Regions from separate parts of the Homo sapiens genome. Here regions 1 and 2 are each linked to region 3. Evidence: promoter capture Hi-C in human tissues and cell types (Jung and others, 2019). All regions are on one chromosome and are shown on one strand. Each heading gives the region's core, a stretch centred on a gene start or on the middle of the fragment in contact. The rest is flanking DNA. Distances are from core to core; before and after follow the strand shown. Region 1 has its middle 8.1 kb from the start of CST4. Region 2 holds the start of LOC124904966 (a long non-coding RNA gene). Region 3 holds the start of CST5 (cystatin D).

Evidence for each region. The method cuts DNA at HindIII sites, captures the fragments that hold promoters and counts their contacts. A contact is called where the count stands out against the background at its distance.
Region 1: a contact is called between a fragment that was not itself captured here and the fragment with the promoter of CST5 in region 3, in 1 of the 25 tissues and cell types used here (thymus).
Region 2: a fragment that was not itself captured here is called in contact with the fragment with the promoter of CST5 in region 3 in 2 of the 25 tissues and cell types used here (dorsolateral prefrontal cortex and spleen).

The regions. Positions count from the first base shown.
Region 1 is chr20:23,679,581-23,682,280 of GRCh38, forward strand. No RefSeq gene overlaps it. Among named protein-coding and RNA genes, the nearest start is that of CST4, 8.1 kb to the right of the region's middle. The HindIII fragment of the contact is 4,514 bases long and covers 1-2,700 here.
Region 2 is chr20:23,743,681-23,746,380 of GRCh38, forward strand. LOC124904966 (a long non-coding RNA gene) reads left to right here and starts at 407. Exons shown (of 2, transcript XR_007067750.1): 1 at 407-610; 2 at 1,177-1,844. The HindIII fragment of the contact is 5,709 bases long and covers 1-2,700 here.
Region 3 is chr20:23,878,387-23,881,086 of GRCh38, forward strand. CST5 (cystatin D) reads right to left here and starts at 1,362. Exons shown (of 3, transcript NM_001900.5): 1 at 1,060-1,362. The coding sequence starts at 1,290. RefSeq lists an enhancer at 855-1,684. The HindIII fragment of the contact is 5,935 bases long and covers 1-2,700 here.

The DNA.
Region 1 (2,700 bases), core at 181-2,680, 200 kb before region 3:
GGGAGTGGTAACCTACCCTCCTAATCTAGAAAAGCGAGTACTCCACATGCATGAAGATACGTCCAGGCATGCAGCACAGTGGGTGCTGCTGATTCAAGACCTATGCACCTGAAGGGAGGGGTGGCTGAGGCTCCTAATCCAGGTGAGAAGGTTCTCCAAATGCCTGGGAATGTGCCCAGCATGGAGTGGAGAGGGTGCGTCTGCACCAAGATCTCTGCATGAGAAGGGAGGGGAAGCTCAGGTTCCTATTCCAGGTAAGTGGGTACTCAACATGCCTGGAAATATCCCTGAGCAAGACAGAGACGGCACTGCTGTACCAAGATTTCTGCACAGGACAAGAGAAGTGACTCAGGGTTCCAGTCCAGTAGAGCAGGTGCACTGAGTGCTTGGAACTATGCCCTGGAGAGGAGTGGAAAATAAAGACGCACTAAGATCTCCGCATTAGAAGGGAAAGGCAACTTATACTCCTAATCCAGGTGAGGGGGTGTACTGAATTCTTGAAATTATGCCTGGTTGTGGAGTGAAGAGGGTGCTTCTGCACCAAGATGTCTGCACAGCAATGGAGGGGTGACCCAGGATCTTAATCTAGGTGAGCAGATGGGCCAAATGCCTGGAAATATGTCCCTCAGTGAGGAACAAAAAAATTTGCTGCAGAGTGGAGAAATGGCTGTTGCAAGAAGCTCTGTTCATGGGAGGGGTGCCAGGCCCTTATTTCAGGAAGTGGAAGTGTTGAATGCTGGGAAATATGCCCAGGCTTGGACCTGAGGGGGGGGTGTTTTTGCTCTGCCAAATTATTTGCAAGATAAGGGAGCTATGAACCACACTCCCCATTCACACCAGCAGCTCAAAACTGGTGGGACACACCTCCCAACTGACAAAGGGGGCAGGCTGGGGCACCCAGAAATGACACCCACACACAAGTCCATGACTGCATAGCTGTTCCTGGCCATAGTACCTATCACTCAGGAAAAATTGTGGCTTCAGCAACTCTCTTTAGTATGGATTTCTATTTTTATTTCATTTTGTCTTATTGGTATTGATTTCTATTTTTATTCCACTGTGGTCTGAGATTACAGTTAGTATGATTTTCCTTTTTTAATTTATTGAGACCTGCTTCATGGCTGAGCATGTGGTCTGTCTTAGAGCATGCTCTGTGGTCCCATGAGAAGAAAGTATGTTCTGTGGTTGATGGGTGGTGTATTCTGTAGATGTCTATTAGGTCCAATTGGTCAAGTATCAAATTTAAATCCAGAATTTCTTTGTTAGTTTTCTACGTCAATAATCTATCTAACACTGCCATTGGGATATTGAAGTACCCCATTATTATTCTGTGACTAATTCTTTTTGTTGGCCTGGGCATACTTGTTTATCAATCTAGGGGCTGCAATGTTGGGTGCACATGTTTAAGAATAACTAAGTCTTCTCGTTTAATTGAACCCTTTGTCATCATGTAATGCCCTTCTTTGTCCTTTCTAAATTGCTGTTTTGGGATTAAAGTCTGTTTCATCTGATGTGAAAATAGCAAACCTCTCCCTTTTGTGTTTTCTATTTGTGTGATAGATCTCCCTCCAACCCTTTTTGTTGAGACTATGGGTGTCATTATGTGTGAGATGGATCTTTTCAAAGACAGCAGATGGATGGGTCTGGGTTTTTAAATACAACTTGTAATCTGTGCCTTTTAAGTGGGTCATTTAGGCTGTTTATAGTCAAGATTAATATTTTTTGTTTGTTTGTTTGTTTGTTTGAGACAGAGACTTGCTCTATTGCCCAGGCTGGAGTACAATGGCACGATCTCGGCTTACTGCAACCTCTGCCTCCTGGGTTCAAGTGATTCTCCTGCCTCAGCCTCCCAAGTAGCTGGGATTATAGGTGTGCACCACCATGCCCAGCTAATTTTTTGTAGTTTTAGTAGACACTGGGTTTCACCATGCTGGGCAGGCTGGTCTCGAACTCTTGACCTTGTGATCCACCCGCCTCAGCCTCCCAAAGTGCTGGGATTACAGGTGCGAGCCACTGTGCCCGGCCCAAGGTTAATATTTATATGTGAGTTTTTGATCCTATCATGAAGGTGACAGCTGTTTTCCTTGTAGTATGTATTGTGTTGTTGCTATCTACTGTCTCTGAACTATGCATTTAACTGTATTCTTGCAACAGTAGGTGTTGTTCTCTTATTTCCATCTTTAGACCTCGTTTAAGCATCTCTTGTAAAGCTGGTCTAGTGGTAACACATTTTCTCAGTGACTGCTTGTCTGGAAAAGATTTTTTTTTCTTCTTTGCTTATGAAGCTTAGTTTGATGGGATAGGAAATTTTGTTTGGAATTTATTGTCTTTAAGAATGCTGAAAATAGGCCCCAAAAGATTGGGTTCTTTCGACACCTAGTCAAAAATGAAAGTGTTATCCTCATGAAAATGTACTCACTAATATGGTATGTACAATAGTTAGTGTATCATGAAGTTTGTTTTTATTTTATGTTATTTCGTTTTTCATTTTACCCAAGTGAGACCCAAATTGTTTTATTTTTTACAGGAATTTAATGAGATAGGATTTCTTGACTTTCACATTTGTAGGGTGCAGAACTGTGTAGTGAACTGCTCACAGCAAGGATGTATGCCTGTGAGGTGACACAGACCCGATGGATCAGACTTGGCCTCCATCCTCCTCTTATCCTGATGAAATCTGACAGCTCCAGACAACACAGA
Region 2 (2,700 bases), core at 51-2,550, 130 kb before region 3:
ATATACTGTCTTTGAACTATATTTAACTGTATTTTTGCAACAGTAGGTATTGTTCTCTTATTTCCATGTTTAGAACTCCCTTAAGCATCTCTTAAGGCTGGTCTAGTGGTAACAAATTTTCTCAGTAACTGCTTGTCTGGAAAAGATTGTTTTTCTTCTTTGCTTATGAAGCTTAGTTGGATGGGATAGGACATTCTTGGTTGGAATCTATTGTCTTTAAGAACGCTGAAAATAGGTTAGTGTCATGAAAATGTACTCACTAATATGGTATGTACAATAGCACACCAGGCAGTTTGTTTTTATTTTATGTTATTTTGTTTTTAATTTTACCCAAGTGAGACCCAAGTTTTTGTATTTTTTATGGGAATTTAATGAGATAGAATTTCTTGATTTTTCATGTTTGTAGGGTGCAGATCTGCGTAGTGAAACTACCCACAGCAAGGATGTATGCCTGTGAGGTGGCACAGAACTGATGGATCAGACTTGGCCTTCAACCTCCTGTTATCCTGATGAAATTGCAAGCTCCAAACAACAGAGACACAACATTGACCAACAGTAAGATGGCTTGAAGAAATATTTCTTTCAGGACAAACTCTGTGCATTCCATGAGGTAATCAATATAGTATATAGCTATACATTTGCACAATTTTGAAGCCCACTACAACAGTCAGAGTTTTAAAATGCTGTGTTTAGTGAGCATTATTGATAGAGTCTTTAAGATCATCAATCTTAAGTCAAGAAAATTTAGAAAGTACTAAAATCTTAGCGCTCACATGAAAGAAAACTGGAAGCTTTTCCAAATTAGACAACAATCAGACAAATTTGCATAGTATTACCTATATGAGCTTTGAAGCAGAAAGAAAATGTTATAATCCATGATTTTCACAAGTAGGATTGATTGTAGTATTTCATAATTTTGGATGATTGTATTATTTATCAGAATTTTAAAGTGATCAAACTTAGTGGAAAGACTGGTTTATCTTTCTGCTATATTTATGGAAAATTCTATTATAAAATCAATGTCATGTGATGAAGCAAATAGTTACTCAATAGTTGAGTATGAAAACATAGAAATAACTTGTTACACTGTTGAGTCAAGTAGTTAATAAAAATGCTATGTTAGCATGTAAAAAGAACACAAATTAAGGAAGGGCAAATCTGCCCTTTCATCTGCAGGGTGGATGGATGGACTTATGAGGACAAAGCCACTGACATCATGAGCAGGAAACAATGCTTCTCTCAAGCTGCAGCTTCGAAATGTCAAACAGCCTCTTCCTTGGGTGACAACTGCTTTCTGACTCAAAGGAAGACCTTGCTCTCCAGCATCAGGGGCTGTCAGAAACTTTGCTTTTGAGTAAGTACAACATCACACTGCCTGGAGGATCTAGGTCCACCTTTACACAGAAGCACAGAGCTACAGAGAAGGGGTTTCTGGATGGAACATTCACATCTGGCTGGACTTCATGGGTTCTAAGGACAGAGGACCTGGGTCCACTTTGCAGACCAGACTTGACACTGGCTGCTTTACACTTAGGACTGCTACGTTGTGAGTCCATCACTACAGCCTCAAGAATCCCTCCCCACAGTCTTATAATAACCTCTTTGCTTTGTTTTTTTAGTCATCCCAGGTTTCTTAATGTGAATTTATTCCCTTTTTGCTACAAGCCAATAATCCTGAGTCTGTTAACTGCAAAATCAGTTTTGGTGACTGAATGCACTAGGATGTATATTAGTTTCTGGAATTTGGGATGACTGTAGCATTTTTCAGCATTTTAAAGTGAGTAATTTGTTGTGACTTATTTCCTTTTCTTAAATAAACACTAACTTCTGTGTTTAGTTTCAAATAGTTTATATTATGCTATTTTTCATGTAGATAACCCTCTGAATTATGTAAGCCTCAGACCTCACGGAACCTGGATTGCCAGTGGTCATAGTGCTGAGAATCCACCTGCCCAAGGAATGACCGCTCTGGTTCCCGCTTCCCAGGCCTCCAATGGACTTATCCCTCCTTTCAGAGTGATTTGTCTATGCTGAAGGTGGAGTTTCTAACCTCAGCGGTTTTAGGCTTTTAGTAAGAATGTGTGACATTATTTTTGCTAAAGGAACTCTTAGAAGGGGTGCAATATTTCCAAAACATGACCCTCAGTATCCTCCTTTACTCCCAAAAACCGGGTGGCTTCCGGACAGGGCCCAGACCCTCAGCTTGGTCCAGAAGATGAAGGTCCACATGCTCACCTTAAAGCCTCCCTGCCCCCTGCTCCCCTCCTAGGGAACAGACACACAAGGAGATGGTTGAGGGAGCCCTCTACAGAGCCAGACGTCCCCCTCCACTTCCCCAGGAAGAGAGATGTCAGAAAAGTTACTGGTTTACACAAAATTGTCTGTTCCTTGTGTCCTTGGATGGTGGTTGCTTATGTCAAGACAGACTTTCCCCAGGTAGAGAACCATGAGGATCTCCATGCAGGGAAGACTCTGCCCCTAACCATGATTCCTGGGCACATGCTCCTCTGCTCTCAGCCCCTGTCTTCCAACAGAAGCCTGAATCAGTGTGTGCAGCCCCCACCCCCTGACACCGGGTGAGGCCCAGACTCAAATCTCCCCAGTTCATGGCCTCCTGGGTGCTGCTTCACTTTCTTCAACGTAAAACCTTGGTTACATCCCATAGGGGTGGAGAGGAAATGAAACAGGTGCTCCCCACTC
Region 3 (2,700 bases), core at 112-2,611:
GACTTGTCAGAACTGTGGAGAAGCATGGGATGAGGGACCCTGGGACCAGGGTGCTAGACCTTGCCCTGTGGAACCACACACAAGTCCTGTAGAACCACATGGAAGTCCTGTGATCCCTCCGGTGTCAGTCTGCTGCTCTGTAAAATAGGCTCCAGGGCCCAACGATCTACATCATTCTGTGCTTCACTCCCAGTGAGTGACACACTTAAGAGGGAGTGCAGGCCAGCAGGGACCACAGCACCAGGGAATGCCCCTCCTGTGCAGGGAGAGGGCTGCAGGAGGAGAAACAGGGCTGGTCTGGACTCCTCTGACTTTCCAAGAGAAGGTGGAGGAGCTCTAAAGGCTGGCAGGCCATATAGCCCTGTGGTCGCTGTGTCACTGCTGCTCTGCCATGGGACGTAGGTCAAGCTGGGCTCGGTAGCCCTGCTGAAGCTTCCTCCCTCTGGACCCAACCACCTCCTTCACTCTGCTGGGTGATTGCTGTCCTCATTTTGCTGAGGTCTAACTCTGCGTTAGCTGGCAGAGGCAGGGTCAGGCATGCTCTACCCCAGCAGGAACTCAGCTGTCCTGGGCTGTAGGGGGTGGTCAGCCAGCCTGAGAGTGAAGGCCACTAGCCATAACGGGCTGTGCCCAGGGGCGTGACTTGGGAGGGAAGCGGGGCTATCCAGGACAAGGAGTCAGGTTCCCGTGTGGCCCCTGTGGAGAGGACTCAGGGAGGAAGATGAACCTCGTGGCCTGGATCTCATCCTGAGCAGCATCAAGCCCACCCAGAGTCAGCACAGTCTCCATCCACACCTGCTGGACCCTGGGAAATGCCACAGTCATGGTACAGACACAGTGGCTGCTGCAGGTTAAAAGAGGCCGAGGGGACAGGACAGGGCTGAACTCATGCACTCACGGCCAAGGAGTGTCCTAGGGCATGAAGACCATCAGCAGACAGTCAGAGAAAGCTGAATGAGTCTGCGGTTTAGATAATGTTGATTTGCTGGGAGTGCTCTGGGGGGTGAGGCAAAAAACCCAGCTGGGACTCAGGACCCCCAGGGTGGTGGTAGCACGCACCTGCTGGTAGGCAGCCATCACCTGCAGAGGGCGGCTGTAGTACTCATCCTTATTAATGACCTTGTTGTACTCGCTGATGGCAAAGTCCAGGGCACACTGCACACTCTTGTCATTGAGGTCTGTGGCATGGATGCCACCTGCCAAGGTCCTAGATTGGGCCGAGGCACTCCCGGCCACGGCCACCATCAAGGCAGTCAGCAGCAGCAGTGGGGTGTGCATGGGCCACATCATGTTCTACTGGGACACAGAGCAAGGAGCTGGATCTCCCAGAGAGCAAAGCAGCAGAAGGCTGAGGCAGGAAGCCCAGGCCAGAAGCTAGCTGTGCATTTATCCTACTTGGGTGTCCCCCAACCCCACCTGCTCCCTGGCCCCGCCCCTGGCTCCTCCTCCTCTTTCTACCCCTCCTCTTCTGTCTCTATCTCCCTTTCCACCCCCAACCACCTCCCTCCCTCCCTAAGTTCCCTTCGCTCCTCCCATGCCTCCTCCTCATCCTCCTCCCCACTCCTGTCCTGACCGCAACCTCCCCACAGCCCTGCCCCTCTTCCTCAGTGCTCTAAAGCTTGGCTCACTCTGGATTCCAGAGAGGTGACACCGCTCCCTGGGCTGTGAAACCTGGTGACCACCTATGTCCACAGGAAAGGGAGAAATACAGGGCTTGGCCTTCTAAAGTCTTCAGATGTCAGGGGCATCCAGGAGCACGTGGTCATGGTCTGGGAATTCCTGGGGCAGGGAGCTGTTTCAGAAGCTCCGGGATGACCTTGTCCATGCCCTCTTCTGGGGAACTTCTTTGCCAAACATAAAGTAATTAACCTTTGGGTAAAGTTCACTGGGTTCTCGTTTCATAACTCCTCATTATTCAATAAACAAACCTGTCACCAGCTTCCCCCTGCACCAAGCAGTCTGGGCAATAGAGCCGTAGACATGAACTTGCAGAGCTGCCATCCAACAGAGATGTGACAGAAACCCAGGAGCAATTTAAAACACATTTGAAAAAGTTAAAAGATACAGCTGAAAGTAATTTTGGTATTTCTACTTTAACCTAATATATCCAAAATACTTCAACACTTCAGGACTATTCTTAAGGAGCTAGTTTACATTCTTTTGTGTGAGTGTAATGTCTTGAAGTTCCCTGTGTATTTTTTACAGTTAGACCAAGCGTCACTGTGGACTAGCCCCATTTCAAGTGCCCTGTGGCCACGAGTGGCTGCTGGTGGCTGTGGTACTGCATAGCCCAGCCATTAGGGTGTGTGGGAGGATGCAGAGTGGTGATCAACAATTTAGATCAGGGAATTATAGTCGCTCAGTTAGAGAGAGGGTGGGTGCTACTGGACCCTGGTCAGGGAAGTCTCTAAGAGACCGGAAAGGTTGAGAAGCCCCAGGCAGCAGGGAATAGTCAGTGCAAAGGCCCTGAGGCAAGGCTGGGCATGCCTGCTCCAGGAAGAGGAAGCTCCTGGAGGGGGTGTGAGCAGGGAAGGGAACGACCTGGAGTCTCACGGTAACTGTGGGTGTGTCCAGGTGGAAGGCGCAGGGAGACCCCTGGCAGGTGGTGGGGGTGTCAGGAGAAGGAGCAGCAGCCACAGGATGAATGTGGGAGCCCAAGAGCCTCTCTTGCTCCTCCCCTCTGGGAGACGTGCTGCCAGC